Linked DNA regions of Homo sapiens: all the other regions are linked to region 5. Evidence: promoter capture Hi-C in human tissues and cell types (Jung and others, 2019). All regions are on one chromosome and are shown on one strand. Each heading gives the region's core, a stretch centred on a gene start or on the middle of the fragment in contact. The rest is flanking DNA. Distances are from core to core; before and after follow the strand shown.

Region 1 (3,004 bases), core at 95-2,594, 140 kb before region 5:
CTAAAACTGGTTTTGGGCATCAGGATAGATCATTTAACACATGGTAGGATGGAATTATGAGCACTAGAGCACTAGCTATGAAATAACAGTGAAAAATGATTTTGGTCATTCTGAATATAGGAGGTTTTACAGGAATTTATAGTAATGCACTTACTACCATTAATTAAAAAAACAACTTTTAATGACAAATATCTTATTGTTACTTCTGAAAAAACAAACCAATTCAAATTTTTATGTCTATTCCCAAAGAGCATAATTGCTATACCTCTATATATGGCTGGAAATAGGGAATATCCTTTTCTGCTTTTAAACAATATTGAGAGCTGAATGACCTTCTTCAGTCTTATTTGTTTAAAGTACTTCTATGCACTACTGAATTAGTAATGTTTTGTGTGTTGATCTTTTAAAATTGGCCTTGGCTTTGGCTGCTCAGGGACCTGCAAATGGAATAGCTGCCTCCTTTCACAAACAATCCTTAGACAATTTTTCCTCTTCATAACTAGAGAGAAAAAATAATCTCACATTAGAAAATTATTTAAGAATAGGCAATTATCTCTCACAACATTAGATAAGTTATATTTGTTTTTCCTTTGTCTGGAGTATAGTTTTTCCTCTATGCAAACCTACGAGAAGATAACAGATGCATGATCACAAGGTTAACAATTCCTGTGCCTCCGGGACTGCACAAATCCGCTATTCTTAGTATGTATATGTGCTCAACACCCCTCTCCTCTCTTTCCCATGAAAGTCTACCATTTTAAAATGTTGGGGTCTTGAGGAATTAACACAGACTACATCCCTGTCTCTGGAGGGATAAAAGCACTAGACATGCAGTGACAAATCTAGCTTATCGGGGTAAAGTATTCATAACTATAGGATTCTAACAGTAGCAGCCATGATTAAACTTTTCTGAGACTCCCACAAAGCTTCCTCTGAAGAATCCCTTTGGATTATGAGTTTGGACAGATGGGCAGGAGCCTTACACATAGGTGGGTCTCAACTTCATCTATCATGTAGTCAGTGCTTGTGCACAATTCAGAGATGAAAGGTTATTTCCTACCTTGGTTTCATATAAATGTGTGACCAATCCTTTGACATCTATAAAGTATATAATACATCTAAGGGATTAAAAAATGATTTTTCTCCTAGTTACCCAAGATTTTAAAATCCAAATTTTCACTAAATGTAAATATAAACATCCAACTTCCTGAAACAAAATGTACTATGCATGTTTGCCTCAACATAAAGTAAATAATAAAGCTTGGTATGTACTGCTTTTAATTATTTGCTAACTTCTTTTTGTTGCATCTTAATGTACTTTTTAGGATCCCTTTGTCCATTCTTCTTCTGTTTCCAAAAACTGCTGCCACTCTGGATGGACATCTTGTCCCTAGGGATACAAATGTTCCCTTTTGCATCAATTTATTCTTTGAAAAATTATTTCTGAGCATTTTCAATGTGCCTGGCCCTAGGCTAAATGCTGGAAATATAATAATGAACAGAACCAGGTTTCCGCTCAGGTATATCCAGTGTACAACATAGCAGGATTTACAAAATGTTTATGATACAACTTAAATGTTGCCCTTCTCTGCCAGTCATATTCCTTCAATTATTCAATAACTCATTGATTTATACATGTATAAAATTTTCATTTTGCACCTATTACATGCCAGGTACTTTTGCAAAAACTGTGAAGTAGGTATTAGGTTTACACAAATCACAATGTAGAAACAACACTACTGAATCTTATAAAATGAAATACGACTACTTGGTTTTTCAATTTTTCATTGAGATAACTAATTTTTGAAGAAATTAAATTATGTTTTTAAAGAATATATTTCTAACATTTTTACCTGATAAAAATACTTACAGATTTAGTATTCCCTTCAATAATTTCTTCTTCTGGTGGTTCGAGTTTGAGATCCTTCAATAAGAGGAAGAAATGGCAGAAAAGAAAAAAAATTATATCATTTAAAACAATGCCATATATTCAAATCATAGTTCTCTCATGGCTAACATTGAACCAAAAGAACTTCATTATCTTAAAGATGAAATAATACTGATTTTTTTAAAACTCAGCTGTTCCAATAAAGACTCTTTGTACTTATTTATCAATTGTAAGAAGCTGTTTTAGACGTGTTCAAAGTATTGCTTTAAATTTACTTCTTGAATGCCATTAGAGAGCAAAGTGGAAGAGAAAGGTACATTAAAACAGAGAGGGAAAGGGTAGGAAGGTAAACGAAAGAAAAGGAAACAGAATGACTAAGCCTAACAGTCTGCTTTATTTTGCTATGAATGAGTATTGCCACATTTCTACATTTCTTGGGACATCATTATAAACATTAGTCTATTGTTACAATACATTTATACCCTGGTGTTAATTTTTCTTTATTAAATAGAAAGTGAATTAAAGAGTAAATGAAAATACGATTGACATTTGCTAAAAGTGAAGAACTCCTATAAAGACCGTGAAGTCTTAAAAAAAAGTTTTTTTTTTTATTTCCATAGGTTTTTGGGGAACAGGTGGTATTTGCTTGTACAGGTAAGTTCTTGAGTGGTGATTTGTGAGATGTTGGTGCACCCGTCACCTGAACAGTATACACTGAACCCGATTTGTAGTCTTTTATCCCTCATCTCCCTACCACCCTTTTCTCCTGAGTCCCCAAAGTCTACTGTGTCATTCTTATGCCTTTGCATCCTCATAGCTTAGCTCCCACTTATGAGTGAGAATATAGAATGGTTGGTTGTCCATTCCTGAGTTACTTCACTTGGAATAATAGTCTCCAGTCCCATCCAGGTTGCTACAAATGCCATTAATTCATTCCTTTTTATGGCTGAGTAGTATTCCATCGTACATACACACCATAATTTCTTTATCCACTCATTGATTGGCGGGCATTTGGGTTGGTTCCACATTTTTGCAACTGAAAATTGTGCTGCTATAAACATGTGTGTGCAAGTTCTTTTTTGTATAATGACTTCTTTTCCTCTGGGTAGATACCCA
Region 2 (3,290 bases), core at 579-3,078, 160 kb before region 5:
ATTGGTGGAATGCTGTAAGAAACAGATAAATGGAAAGGATTGAAATTTGCTTTCAAAACTGTTCAAGTAATTTGCTGGCAATAGGATCTTTTTTTTTGTATCCTGTTTTCCCATAACCGTAGGTTTTTCTGTTATTACCAATGGACATTCTGCTCCACAGACCAAGTTTATATACTCCTTTTGTCTGGGTGGTTTGGGCTGCCATATTCCAGTATGCTTCATTTGAATGATTTTATACTTGAGAGGTCATTGGAATATATTATAGTGTATATTTTCATATCTGGATGCAATCTGGCTTAGTTGCTTAATTACTTTAGATGTATCTTAGGTAAACCACTTAGTAGTCTTAACCATAAAAAGCAATCTTACCAGAAATCATAATTTGTGAGTAAAATTAGAAATACAAACTTATTCATACTGCATTTTTAAATGTAATATCTGCTTTTTTTCTTTCAGATTTTAATTTTAGGTATAAATATGTGCAGCTATTTATTTATTTATTTATTTATTTATTTATTTATTTATTTATTTATTTTGAGACAGTCTCGTTCTGTCACCCAGGCTGGAGTGCACTGGCACGAACTCAGTTCACTGCAACCTCTGCCTCCCAGGTTCAAGTGAGTCTCCTGCATCAGCCTACCAAGTAGCTGGGATTACAGGTATGCACCACCATGCCTGGCTAATTTTTTGTATTTTTTAGTAAAGAGAGGATTTCACCATATTGGCCACTGGTCTCGATCTCCTGTCCTCAGGTCATCTGCCCACCTTCGCCTCCCAAAGTGCTGGGATTACAGGCGTGAGCCATAGCGCCCAGCTAATTATTTTTATTTTTAATCTTCATAACCATTATAACACAAAATGTACAAAACTGGTTTTTAAAAATAGTGTTAGAAGTTATATGGCCATTAAAACCCATAAATAATATTTATATGCTAGCTTCTGCTTACTGGAATAGGCCTGCTGTCACAGTGATAAAACTTTAAAATAAGGTGGGATGTCCCAATAAATGTCAAAATGTTGTAGGTTTTAAAATTGTGTCAAAAATCAAGCCTAACTTTTCCTCTTGTTCTACGAAATTCCAGTAATCATTGTTGAAATTAAATGTAACATGAAATTAATACAAAATAGGGCAGCAATTAAAAGACATTAAATTGTATTGAGCCTGGATTCACAGAACAAGAATTGATCCAGTTTTATCTGTAGTCAGTTTTTCTTTCTAAATTAGGAAATGCTCTGAGAGAGAAAGAGTAATATATGTGCCAATGACACTAGTAGTGTCTAGAAAATAATTCCAGATAATGATAAAGTTGGGTCAGAAAACTATCAGATTAGTCCACATTTTCAATTCTTGCTATAGCATTTTCCCCCTCACTGATAATTCAGTAGCCTCCTGTTCTATCCTCTTTTCCTACTCTATTTTTGATCAGGTTGTTTCTGTCCTGGAAAGACTCAAGACACTAATAAGAACAAGCTTTGTTCCTTTCTTTCCACATTGGTTTGGGAGAGATGGAAATGGGTGTGATGACAGACACAAAAATTACAAGTGTCAGGACTTCGTGGAAATTTTGACCGAAGACCAATATATTTATGATGATGCCAAAGTCCTATTCATTCCTTCATTTAGGAAATAATTTCTTCTTGCCATATACTGTACTATAGTAATACTGTAATAGGGTAGGGAATGTGAAGATAAATAAAATGTGGATCTCACTTTCCTGCATTCTATGTACAAAGCTTGCAGCAGTCATATTTACAGAAGTTGTATTCTAAGATTTTTCTCCCTATTTTATTTTATTTTATTTTAATTTTATTATTATTGTTTTTTGACATGGAGTCTCGCTCTGTCGCCCAGTCTGGAGTGCAGTGGTGCGATCTTGGCTCACTGCAACCCTCCGCCTCCTGGGTTCAAGCAATTCTCCTGCCTCAGCCTCCTGAGCAGCTAGGATTACAGGCATGCCCCACCATGCCCAGCTACTTTTTGTATTTTTAGTAGAGGTGGGGTTTCACCATGTTGGTCAGGCTGGTTTCGAGCTCCTGGCCTTGTGATCCGCCCACCTCAGCCTCCCAAAGTGCTGGGATTACAGGCGTGAGCCACCGCGCCCAGCCTTCCTCCCATTTATAACATCATAACACTATACATCCCCCACTCATCCCCAGGAGCACTGTATCTTTGCATTTTACTCTTTTGGTTTCCTTGATACTCCACTGCTTAAAGAAAGGCATCTCCCCAAGCTTCTCTTAGATATTTTGTTCTTACCTACATACTTTCTTACCAATCCCAGGCTTCAACAATCATCTTGCTGTGGTTAACTCCTGAAAATTACATCTGCAACTGGAGTCCCAAACTCTGGCTATTTCCTGGTGCAGGTTTTTTTTTTTTTCTTCCCTGGCCTAGATTATTGCCCTAATTGGTTAATCTCTCTCCTCTCCATGACATCCACCTTTCTCCCTCCTGTCAGTTATTACTGATTAGAACATGTCACCATCCCTTTCAAAACTTTAAATTACTCCAGGTTGCTGTTCAAAAGCCTCATTATGACATTCTCAACCTCACTTCTTACTCTCTCGTCTGTCTCCACTTGTACTGTAAGTTTTATGCCTTAGTGACACCTTTGCACCTATAAAGCACATTCACACTTCTTGCATTTGTTCATGTCCAAATTTACCAAAGGACCCTTCCTCTCCATCTTTACTTTTCCACATCTCATCTTTTAAGGACTAGCTCAAGTCATTTTCTTAAAAACTATTAAAGAAGTAATCACTTCTCCAAGTCCACAAAACACATATTATCTCTAATGGTGACAGCTATTTTATTCCCTTAGCTGGGTTTTTTTTTTCTGCTAAAATTTGTCTTTGCAAACGTTTCTGTGAAGCTGGACAGAAAGCACTTTATGGGTAGGGATTTTGCCTTTAGTTTGTACCCTTTGTAGCTCCCAACACAGTGCTTGTTCAGAAATGGAGCTCAATCAGTACCAGTAAATTAGGCTAAACACCCTGATGCCTAGCACATATTAATACTCAGTAAATATATATTTAATCAGTAATTGGATGGGTAGATGAACAAATTGTATCCAGTACACTAAATTACAATATGATAAAATATTTGAATAATTTTTTGAAATATGATTTGGTGGTACTTCAAGTTTGTTAATATGATTAGCAAATGACTAATGGTTCAGTATAGCTGGGAATACAAATAGGGTCAACTAAGGACAAAATAGAACAAATATATAGATCTTTTATTTCTTCCCCCCAATCTCAAATCATAAAATATATAAAGAAATAAATAA
Region 3 (3,324 bases), core at 670-3,169, 150 kb after region 5:
GTAGTTACTACAGACCCTACTGCCTACAGAGCCTGAACTGTTTACTACCTGGTGCTTCATGGAAAAAGTTTGCCAACTTCTGCCTTAGAGTCACACCAACAAAACAGCTACCAAGGCTGAGCCCCTGCAACTGTAGGAAGAGGCCCTTAATTTCTCACATATATCTTGTATTTTTATTTAACAGAAAAAAAATTTTTAAAGCAATAAATGGGTACTGTGTGTAAAATGCAAACAAAATAGAAATGAGTAAATTTTAAAGTGCAAGACCTTACCCATCACCCTGGCTCACTTCTTAGGGAACTGCTTTATAGAATTGAATGTTACCAAACTGCCAGTTACTTTGGTTATTTATATGAGCCCACCATAGGTTTGAAGCAACAAATAGATTCTTTGTTTTGGAGGGAGCCGGGGAGCTGTGAAACTGGTACTGACTGAAATAATAATAGTGAAAGATGTCATCATAACTTTAAGCAGATATAACTGTTCTCAAGTTTTCTTTGAGTTTGCATTGAGCTATCAAGAAGATAAATTACTTTTACTAATTTAGTTTATATTTGAACTGAAATTTATTACAACTAAATAAAAGTTTTTGGCAAATGACTCTAAGACCACAAATACAGTATAGTCTTAGCTTATGCTATGGGGTCTTCTGGTTCTGTCTTAGCTCCTTTGTAGCCCTGGCGAAGTGATTTAATGATTCTGGCCTTCAGTTTTCCTTATTTGTAAAATGAGAGGGTACAGATGAGGTCAGAGTTTGCTTTTAAAAAGACAAATGTTCTGAGCAACAGTGTAACATTACCTTTTATTTTTTAACAGTTTAGTGATAGTATGTGTTATAAAAATACACATTTTCTCATTTTCTTGAGTTCTTATTCTGTAATATGTTTTCTTATTTTCTTAATTCTTATTCTGTGCTGTAGATAGAGCCATAGATTCAAAAAAAGATATGATCGGTCATAATACTTGTCACTGTATCAGTGTATCTAATGATGATTTCTTCTTACTATTAAAGTGTAATGATTCGCTGCCAGTGGTACAGTTCAGGCAAAATAGAAAGGCAGACACAGTCTGTGTTTTGAAAGAGTTGGAGTCTGGCCCTTAAGGGTCAGATAGGATGAACAAGTTGTGTAATGTCATCTCAGTGCACATCCTGAGACCTCACAATACCACTGAATGCAGTTGACCTTTATTTCCTTGAAACTGTTTTCCCCTCTTTGTGTCTCTTTAGTTATCTCATCAGCTTCTGCAGTTTTTGTGTCATATGTAGGCTTACAATTCACTAATCTATATCTCTAGCCTGTTATATTAATGTATATAGAGTATGTTTTATTAACCCTTCCTAGATTAAAAAAAATTTGTTTAAAAGCAACGAGGTTATTAAAACATGTTTTAACAATGTTTGTTTTTTCTGTCTGTATGTATTCATTGTAAAAACTTTGAAAAGTATAGCAAGTACAAAGAAAAACATCATTAACATTTTCGTGTTTATTTTTCTCTTTGCATTTTATTGATATGTATTTTAATATAATATTGAGTTAATGATTTTTGTGACCTTCTTTTACTTGAAGTAATGAACATCTTGTTATTACGTGTATTACAACATGACTTTTAATGACTGCACAGTCAGCTGTAGTTTTCCATCTTTGTATCTTTTTTATTCTGCTTAGAACTGGGTCTTAGATATATATAGAAGGCATATGATACATGTTTTAGTACAAATAATAAACCTATAGTATGTCAGACTGTATGAAGAAAAGCTTTTCAACTTGTGTTCCAGAAATTATGTACAATAAGATATACATTTTTCCCCCCTTGAGAGAAGATTCAAGGCCTCTGTGTGTATGTGGGTGGGAGGGTGGAAGGGGGGTTACACCAGATTCTCAAATAAATTGGTGACCTCTCCCTAAGATATTTGGGAACCATTAAAAGCAGTTCCTAATTTAGGGACAGTGAAGTCATGAAAAAGCTTGCATATGTGAAGATGCTTCTGTGTTGTAGACAGACATTGACCTAACCATTTCTGTCAGTAGAAATCTCTTTACCCTGAAGCCCTCTCTAGCTGTTAGGGTAGGGTCTCAGCACTGCTGCGGCCTTCTTGTTCTTTTTTTTTTTTTTCCTCCAGTAGCAAGACTTTTTTCAGTACTCTCAGGGTTGCTTGAGAGACCCTAACCAGAGGGTCTTAGCCTTGACATTAGGTTCACCATGGCGGTTTCTGGAAATATTTTTAGTATTCATTCAGTAAATAATTGGTAGGTGCCTAGTATGTGCCTGCTGCTGTTTTAAATGCTGGAGGTGTAGCCGTGAATAAAAGAAAGTCTCTCCCTTGAGGTGGTAGCATTCCAGTGGAGAAATAGCATTCTAGGTAAATCATGGTGTAAGTTTTGCTGATAATAAGCTAATTTTCATTTATAACATTTTTTCTGTGTGTTTGGCAGAGTGTTCTTAATTTCTGAAAATCCGATTAAAAATGGACATTGCATTCCAACTTGTTTATAAACTGGCAACTATTCTAGGTTTCCATATTTATAAATAAAGCATTATTGGTGTTGATACATCCAACCTCCAATAAACATATATTTAGCAACTAATATATAGTAGGCATTTGTTAAGATCTAGGGACACAATGAGGACCAAGAACGACAGATCCCTTTCCTCACAGAATTTATAGTCTGGGAAAGGACTGAGGGGCAAACAAATGGTGAAACCTTCAGTTGTTCTCCAGTGCAAAGGGGACAGGGAAGTATAGTGTTCTGTCAGAGCACTTGAAAGCACTTAACAAAGACTTGGGGCATCTGGGAAGGTTTCCTAGAGTAATTGATGACTGAGTAGTGAAAGACAGTGTAGGAGTTTTCGGAGTAAATGGAGTGGGAAGAAGGATGTGCTTGTTGTACTCCCCAGAAGGAACAACGTAGAAAGGCCCAGAGGGAAAGGGGAGCAAGTAGTGTTCTAGGAACTGAGAAAATTTTGATGTGACTGGGACATAGTGTGACAGGGTGCATGAAATGCTCAGAGGCCAGATCATGAAGCACTTTGCACTCTGAAGAACCTCATGGCAGTAGGAGGGAGTTTAAGCAGGATTAGGCTCACTTTTTAAAAAGATTTCTGCAGGGTTACCATAGGTAGTGAGTGGGGGTAGTCTGTGTAGTCAGGACCAAAGAGGAGACTGAATTAGAAATAGGCCCAGACGGTGGATAGATTTCCCCAGAGAAGGTGCGGTTGACAAGATGTAGTAGATATTGAATGTGGGAAATAAGGAATTAGCTATGTGCCTGACTGATGAGGTCTCCAGCTAGGGCCGCTGAGATTGGGAACACAGAAAAGATG
Region 4 (3,479 bases), core at 198-2,697, 220 kb after region 5:
GGCTGGAGTGCAGTGGCATGATCTCGGCTCACTGCAACCTCCACCTTCTGGGCTCAGGCAATTCTCCTCTCTCTGCCTCCTGAGTAGCTGGGATTACAGGCATGTGCCACCACACCCGGCTAATTTTTTGTATTTTTAGTAGAGATGGAGTTTCACCATGTTAGCCTGGCTGGTCTTGAACTCTTGGCTTCAGGGGATCCACCCACCTTGGCCTCCCAAAGTGCTGGGATTACAGTCGTGAGCCACCATGCCTGGCCACCTCATGTGTCATTGATTCTGCAGCAGCCTTGGTAGGATTTTAATCTCCACTGTCATCAGTATTTTCAAAGTCAGAAAAGATATATTTGCTGATGGCAGAATTTCACTGGCACAGAATAGGAAGAGAGTTTCTCTCTCTCTCTTTCTCTCTCTCTCTCTCTGTGTGTGTGTTTTGGGATCAATAGTGTAGTGCAGGCAAAAATTTACCTCTGCCCTTCTAGGGTCTCTGCTGGGCTTGAGAATTAAATTGACGTAAGATAAATTAACAAGAGAAAAGCGTATAAATTTAACATATTTTACATGACACAGGAGCCCTCATGAGAAAATGAAGATAAAAAAAAAAGCAAGGCTTACATGATTTTGTAAAGAGGCAATTGTGGAAAAGTATCTAAATTTTGTGGGGAGGCCAAAGGGAGATAATTCTTTTAACAAGGTCTGTTTATACGGAATTATCTCGGCTATGAGTCTTCATGGAAGAATGTTTCTTTTCTCTTGGCACAGGGAGGGCATCTTCCACATGATAGTTTTTATCTCCTACCTTCAGGGAAAAGAAAGGGAAGATTAGAATACATGTAATCTTCTTGAATCTGCTCTTTTTCAAGTGCCTCTGGCTTGAAGTGATCCTTATGTCAAAGTGGCATATTTGGGGGTGGCATAGCCTGCCACCCTTCAGTAGTGTGACTCAAAGCTGAGTCAGAAAAGTGCATGGTATTTTGAGGGGTAGGGAGCAAACCTTTGTTGTCAGGTAACCCTATAAGCACAGCATGGGGAAAGGGTCTGTCTCCTAGTCTTGCTAGTTCTCCCAAGAGGCATCTTAAGTTGTGCAGAACTCTCAGAATTCTCATATGACCCTTTTGAAAATCAGCAGAGGCCTCTATCAGAATCAGTGAAAGCAGGTGTGCTTTCTAGACCTTAGAGAGACATGGAAGATGCCAGGATCAGGTCCTGGAGAATTTCTGTTTCAAAATGTGCAGTCTCTAGTTTTTTTTCCAAATGAGCTTGAGTTGGAATCTCAATAAGTGGATCCACGTGCCAGTCAAACAAACCAGGTAAAAGTGATTCAGATGGGAAATCTTCTGGGTAAGAAAACTGAATAAGGAATAAAAGAATTTACCCCAGGCAAAACTGACATTATGTTCATTCTTTAAAGGCTCACATATAAACAGCGATTAACAGAGATCCCACAATGCTGGACACTGTGAGAGAAAGATTTACTTTTAGTAGAAATGCACTTACATTTCTTGTTATGCTTGGAAGCAGGGCAGCTAATTCATCCTTAGGAAAATCAAAGAAACATTTGGGAGGAAGGAAACATTGACAGTACCACCAACTGACCCCTTTAAGAACTATCTATAGTTATCTATAATTAGTCAATAAATGATCAGAAACATGTGAGTTCTTTCTTATTTGGTTGAGGAATGTGGCCTTGAGAGCACAGAAAAGCCCTAACATTTAAGTGTGTGAGCAACATGGGAAGAAGGCAAAATGGCCAGTGACCAGGACAGAAAAGACAAACTTATGCAATGGCATGATTTTACATAACCTGGGTTCTCCTAGTACATGGCAGGGATTAAGTTACCAGGTTCACACAAGCTCCACCTGGGATACCAGTCCCGATTAATTTTTCATGGCTTCCTGCAGCACAGCATTGAGATATAAGATGATAAAGATTTCAGCTGTGTAAGAGACTGTGGACAACGTGTTAATGTCTGTCTGGAATAAGGGAGGGGGAGTGTTGATGCAGTGTTTGCCAGTGCTGAATGGAAGCTTGGTGGAGCTTTTTTGTCATGAATGAATTAGAAGCACAACTTGCAAAGTTTGCTTTTACAAGTATTGAATACGGACAACTTATTTTTTACCACATATTTTACTTCTTGTACATTAATCTTTTTTTTTTTTTGTTGTTGTTGTTTTGAAATGGAGTCTCGCTGTGTTGCCCAGGCTGGAGTGCAGAGGCACGACTTTGGCTCATGCAACCTCCACCTCCTGGGTTCAAGCAATTCTCCTGCCTCAGCCTCCCAAGTAGCTGGGATTACAGGCACCCACTACCAAACCTGGCTAATGTTTGTATTTTTAGTAGAGATGTGGTTTCACCATGCTGGCCAGGCTGGTCTCGAGCTCCTGACCTCAGGTGATCCACCTGACTAGGCCTCCCAAAGTGCTGGGATTACAAGCGTGAGCCACTGCACTCAGCCACATTAATCTTAAAGTTTCAGCAAAGCAGATATGACGTGCTTGGTTTCCCTCATTAAAAAGCTCAGGAAGATATTAAAACCCTGTAAAACTATCCTTTGCGGGCTTTGTGTACTGAATTGAGGTAGTGAATGCATTTTTCTTCTCATTACTCAAGGAAAACCTCACTATTTGGTGGCAGTTACGACAAGTGTATTCCCCAGAAGCTATAGCACATTAACTGGGTGACCAAGGTTAGAATGTTCACCAACGGCAGCCCCTGTGCTGCTTCACTTGTTCTGCAAATTCAGTCTCTGGAGATCCCCATATTAAGCTTTCTCCGAATCCTTGATTATTACAGTTTGGAAGTTTCTGTTCAGGCTACCACTCTCCCTTCTGAATTGCCCTTTTATTTCTTGCCCACTCCACTCTCCAGGTACCAGGGTCTTCATGGGCTCTCCCAGGTAATCCACATGTATGGCTCTTTCATGGATCCTTCATCTCACCCTTTATTCCCCAACATGACCGATCTAGTCTCCTCCCATTCTTGTCAGTGGCCTTTTTGAACTAGCCCCAAAAGAGCCACCTAACAAACATATTCATTCTAAGGCATTAGCAACAACTGAATGTGTTGTCCTTCCATTCTAAGAGGTGAGCAATGAGTTAGACAGTACCCTACTCAGTGTCATCCCATCATGTGAGTTCTTTCTTATTTGGTTGAGGAGTGTGGCCTTGAGAGCACAGAAAAGCCCTGAACATTTAAGTGTGTGAGCAACATGGGAAGAAGGTAAAATGGCCTTCTTCCATTGGTCATGCCCTAGCCAATGTCATCCCATCAAGTGATGGGAAGAGGGCTATTTGGGCAGAGGGCACACTGATGTGGCCTCTGTTAAGGCATAAAACCTACCGTCCCACAGGATATATTGACAATTAGGGGTCACAAGTTCTTACTGCAAAACACTGATGAGCAGAAATGTTCTGTTTTCTTCCTAGAACGATGTGTCAACATAAGCTGAAATCAGAAAATCAGAAACAAAATATCTTTATTT
Region 5 (3,454 bases), core at 342-2,841:
CTGGATCACCAATTGGAGCCACCAGGTGATAAAGGGTGAAGGCTGCCAGTACACACAGTTGAACCTCACTTCTATCATTTGCCTTACAACAGTTTGAATTATTGATAGGAGTTTCTTTCCCTAGAATTAAAAAGAATTCTAGCCAATCCATTCAAAATAAACTTGGGAGAGCGCCTCACATCCTCCTATCCTCTTTATCTCTGCCTCACCATTATGATACTAATTGATTTCCTCATATTTTCATCTCTCCACAAACAAATGTATCTGGCTTCTGGCCCATCTCCCACTCATTTTGACTTTAATAAGAAAAGATAACTCAGAGAAGGGTAAAGGACAGAGCACGTAGCACTCCTCCATGTCCTTTGACATTTTCTATCATGCCTAAACAAGAAGCAGACAGAATTGTCCCCACTGAGATAGACACGACCTCCGGCAACAGCATGAATGTGACAACTGAGGGGCTGGGAGAGCCTGGAGCCCGGCAAGCAGCTGAGAGAAACCCCAAAGCAGAGAGAAGAGATAGGCAACAGACGGAAAAATAGAGAAAACAGAAACAGCAGGCAGGAGAGGAAAACAAAATTGAGAAATAAATAAGAAATAAAAGTGCTGTAAAGATAGAAACCACACCATACGGGAAAAAGAAACAGCACAGAAGGAAAAGAAAGGATGTAATCAGATCAGAGTAATGAAGGCAGGCAGTCGATACCGAAGTGAGAAATTGGACCAAAGGGAAAATAGTCAAAAGCTAGAATTCATGGAGGTGACAGTAGTAATTAGAACTTGGAGAGAAGGAGAATATCAGGGAAGAAAAAGGGAAAATAGAAGAGGTGGCAGTGACAAAAAGAATCATTATGAAAATGATATTTCCCACCGCTGTAAAAAGAAAAACAAATATGCTCAAAGTAATTGTTTTCCGAGGGGGTCTGGGGGAGGATAACGAGGGCATCTCAATCGCTGCTGCTTCCCTGGCTGGGTTGCTTGAGAGCATCCACGAGTGTGAAGGCTGCGAATAGGGCGCGTTAGAGAGATGAGTTGGGACACTGTCCCCACCTCACCCCCCACACCTTGTGCCTCTTTAAAATGTCCTATGCACTCAAATGTTGTCTGTTGTATTTGCAATAGTGTCTCTACGAAACCCAGCCTGTTGGAAAATCTAACTTTTGCAGTTTTCTTAAGGGTGTTAAGCCACAAGCTGCAGGTCTGGGACAGCCCTAGCTGCAAGTTAAGGGACAGTCGTTCCTCCTGCATTTGCATCGGTAGTTCTCGCCTGTGTTCTGGGGACAAAGCATTGGCTGGTCAGCACCTGAGCCGAACCCCTTCCTTTCGGGGAAAAGAAAGGTGCTGGGAAGCAACCGCCCAGCTCCCACCATCTGTACTTACGTCGAGGAAGATCGACATGCCCTTGGACAGGTGCAGAGCAGAGCTGAGCTCCTCCGAGGAGTTGTTGGAGGACGGCGATGTCTCCTGGGAATCTTCCATCCTCGGGAGCCCTGACGGCCTCAGGCGGAGCGGGGCTAGGCGGACGCACCGGCTCTGGCAAGGGCGCGGCCGCAGCTGCTGCTTCGCCGCCGCCGGGCTCTGGATCCGGGAGGGTGTTCGCTCCCGCGCGCGCCTCCCTCCGCGCTCTCCGCGCTCTCCGCGCTCGGTGTCCCCCCCTCCCTCCTCCGGCCTCTGCGCTCCCACGCGCTCCAACTCTCGCCTCCTCCTTCCCGTAGTTGACGGCGTCTGGATCCATGTCATCCCCGCACGTAGCAACGCGCGGAGGGGAGCGGGCTCTGCCCCCGGCACGGCCATCGGCCACGGCTGGAGATAGCCTGGGGACCCCTACCAGCCCCACGACGGCCCCAAGTGCAGGGATGGAGGAGGGCGTCCGGACAGAGAGAAGGGACGAATGGCAGGGCGTTTGTCCTGAGCAGCCAAAGCGCAAGGTAAGGACGCCCCCAGCCTCACCTGAGTGGATGCCATAAATAGGGAGGAACTCAGAGAGGTTCTACCTACTCTGCTTTTGGTCCCAGTGGCCTGTCTGCCCGACCTTCCCCAAAGGCGGGGGCAGGGTTCACGAATACCAGCAATCGAGGAGCAGCTGGTTTGGTGTAGGGATTAAGCCATTCGGTGTTATCTTGCGCTCGAAGGACTTAACCTGTAAGCCTCACTTTTCCTCATCAGTAAAATGGTTACACCGGTCTCACCCCAGAGGGTTCTGAGGCTTACCTATGGCAGTGCTGCTGACAAAGGCGGTGCTATGAACTCTGCCTAGAGTAGGCTTCGAAACGTTTGCTATGGGGCAAGGATTGTTAGGTAATGTTCAAATATGAAGTTTCCCAAAGTCACAAGACGAAGTCCTTATCTGTGTTTAAGCATTTAAACCAGGGTAATTATTCAATATTTGACGGCTTCTGCGAAGGCTGTAAAAATAGGAAACTGACCACACCTTTCATCAGGAGAGAGATCCAGTTTATTGGGCATCTAAAATGTGTATGTGTTGGTTACAAACTTGAGCTATCTGGGAGCGAGATAAGGCAAAAAAGAGGGAACCTTGTCTAAACAAGACTCTGCCTCTACCAGTGAGAACGGGTGAGGAGGATCCAGATCTCCATTTTGTGGCCTTTGGAGAAAAGTAAACATATTCTTCCTATAAGACAGGCCCACACACAACCAAAATGCTGATCAACATGTGAGTGTCTTAAAGGCATGTAAAACATGCTAGGGGTTTCTCAGGAGAGACAGGTTACACTCTGGCTGGGGGGACCAATAAAAGCTTGATGAAAGAAGCGGTATATGAAATGGACCTTAAAAATCAGTGGATACTCCATGCTTGATAGAAATAGAAGGAAAACACTTCCAGGCAGAAGGAACAGCGTAAGCAAAGCATGGCACCAGGAAAGCACGTGGAAGCTGGAAGTAGTCCACTGGGGATTCCTATAAACATACAGAATCCCAGATCCTACCTGGGCTTTCCAAATCCCAATACTAAAGTACTGTCTAGTCCAGAAATCCAAGTCCCCCTCACCCTAATGATTCATACACAGTTGCTATGTAGTAGGCTCAGGACTAGGGTGTGGCAAGTGGGGCCACTTGAGCACAGAATGTAAGGAGGCACTTGCTCTCAATCTCTATCCTGTGCTTGCATGATCCTGAGAATGATTTTCTTAAATTTTGCACCCTAGGTGTCTTGTTCACTTCACCCAAGTCCCACTGCTCCTTTGTAGATGGGTGCTTACAAAAAAAAAAAATGAATCCAGTTGTTCTCAACGCTGCCTGTACATTGGAATCACCTGGGGTGTGTGGTAACTTTAAAATGTGCCCACAAATTCATTGACATTCTTCCTATAGAGAAGTGGGTCCCCTCCCCTTAAATCTGAAAGATTGTGACTGCTACAATGAATGAAATGGAACAGAAGTGTTGCTATGTGCTTTCCGAGGGTAGGGGCATAAAAGCCTTTGCAATTCCACT

What was found. The method cuts DNA at HindIII sites, captures the fragments that hold promoters and counts their contacts. A contact is called where the count stands out against the background at its distance.
Region 1: a contact is called between a fragment that was not itself captured here and the fragment with the promoter of NECAB1 in region 5, in 3 of the 25 tissues and cell types used here (dorsolateral prefrontal cortex, hippocampus and liver).
Region 2: a contact is called between a fragment that was not itself captured here and the fragment with the promoter of NECAB1 in region 5, in 6 of the 25 tissues and cell types used here (H1 embryonic stem cells, dorsolateral prefrontal cortex, heart left ventricle and 3 more).
Region 3: a contact is called between a fragment that was not itself captured here and the fragment with the promoter of NECAB1 in region 5, in 2 of the 25 tissues and cell types used here (mesendoderm cells and thymus).
Region 4: a fragment that was not itself captured here is called in contact with the fragment with the promoter of NECAB1 in region 5 in 2 of the 25 tissues and cell types used here (aorta and spleen).

Annotation. Positions count from the first base shown.
Region 1 is chr8:90,933,224-90,936,227 of GRCh38, reverse strand. It overlaps NECAB1 (N-terminal EF-hand calcium binding protein 1), which reads right to left. Exons shown (of 13, transcript NM_022351.5): 9 at 1,871-1,924. All of the region lies in intron 1 of LOC105375634 (a long non-coding RNA gene), which reads left to right. Among named protein-coding and RNA genes, the nearest start is that of C8orf88, 51 kb to the left of the region's middle. The HindIII fragment of the contact is 3,943 bases long and covers 1-3,004 here.
Region 2 is chr8:90,951,313-90,954,602 of GRCh38, reverse strand. The region is part of intron 12 of NECAB1 (N-terminal EF-hand calcium binding protein 1); the gene reads right to left. It also overlaps a transcript of LOC105375634 not described here. Among named protein-coding and RNA genes, the nearest start is that of C8orf88, 32 kb to the left of the region's middle. The HindIII fragment of the contact is 5,493 bases long and covers 1-3,290 here.
Region 3 is chr8:90,637,905-90,641,228 of GRCh38, reverse strand. The region is part of intron 1 of TMEM64 (transmembrane protein 64); the gene reads left to right. Among named protein-coding and RNA genes, the nearest start is that of TMEM64, 6.5 kb to the left of the region's middle. The HindIII fragment of the contact is 3,462 bases long and covers 189-3,324 here.
Region 4 is chr8:90,566,452-90,569,930 of GRCh38, reverse strand. No RefSeq gene overlaps it. Among named protein-coding and RNA genes, the nearest start is that of LINC01030, 38 kb to the left of the region's middle. RefSeq lists an enhancer at 332-833. The HindIII fragment of the contact is 3,391 bases long and covers 1-3,142 here.
Region 5 is chr8:90,789,912-90,793,365 of GRCh38, reverse strand. It overlaps NECAB1 (N-terminal EF-hand calcium binding protein 1), which reads right to left and starts at 1,591. Exons shown (of 13, transcript NM_022351.5): 1 at 1,381-1,591. The coding sequence starts at 1,479. It overlaps LOC105375633 (a long non-coding RNA gene), which reads left to right and starts at 1,198. Exons shown (of 4, transcript XR_928389.4): 1 at 1,198-1,928. The HindIII fragment of the contact is 16,269 bases long and covers 1-3,454 here.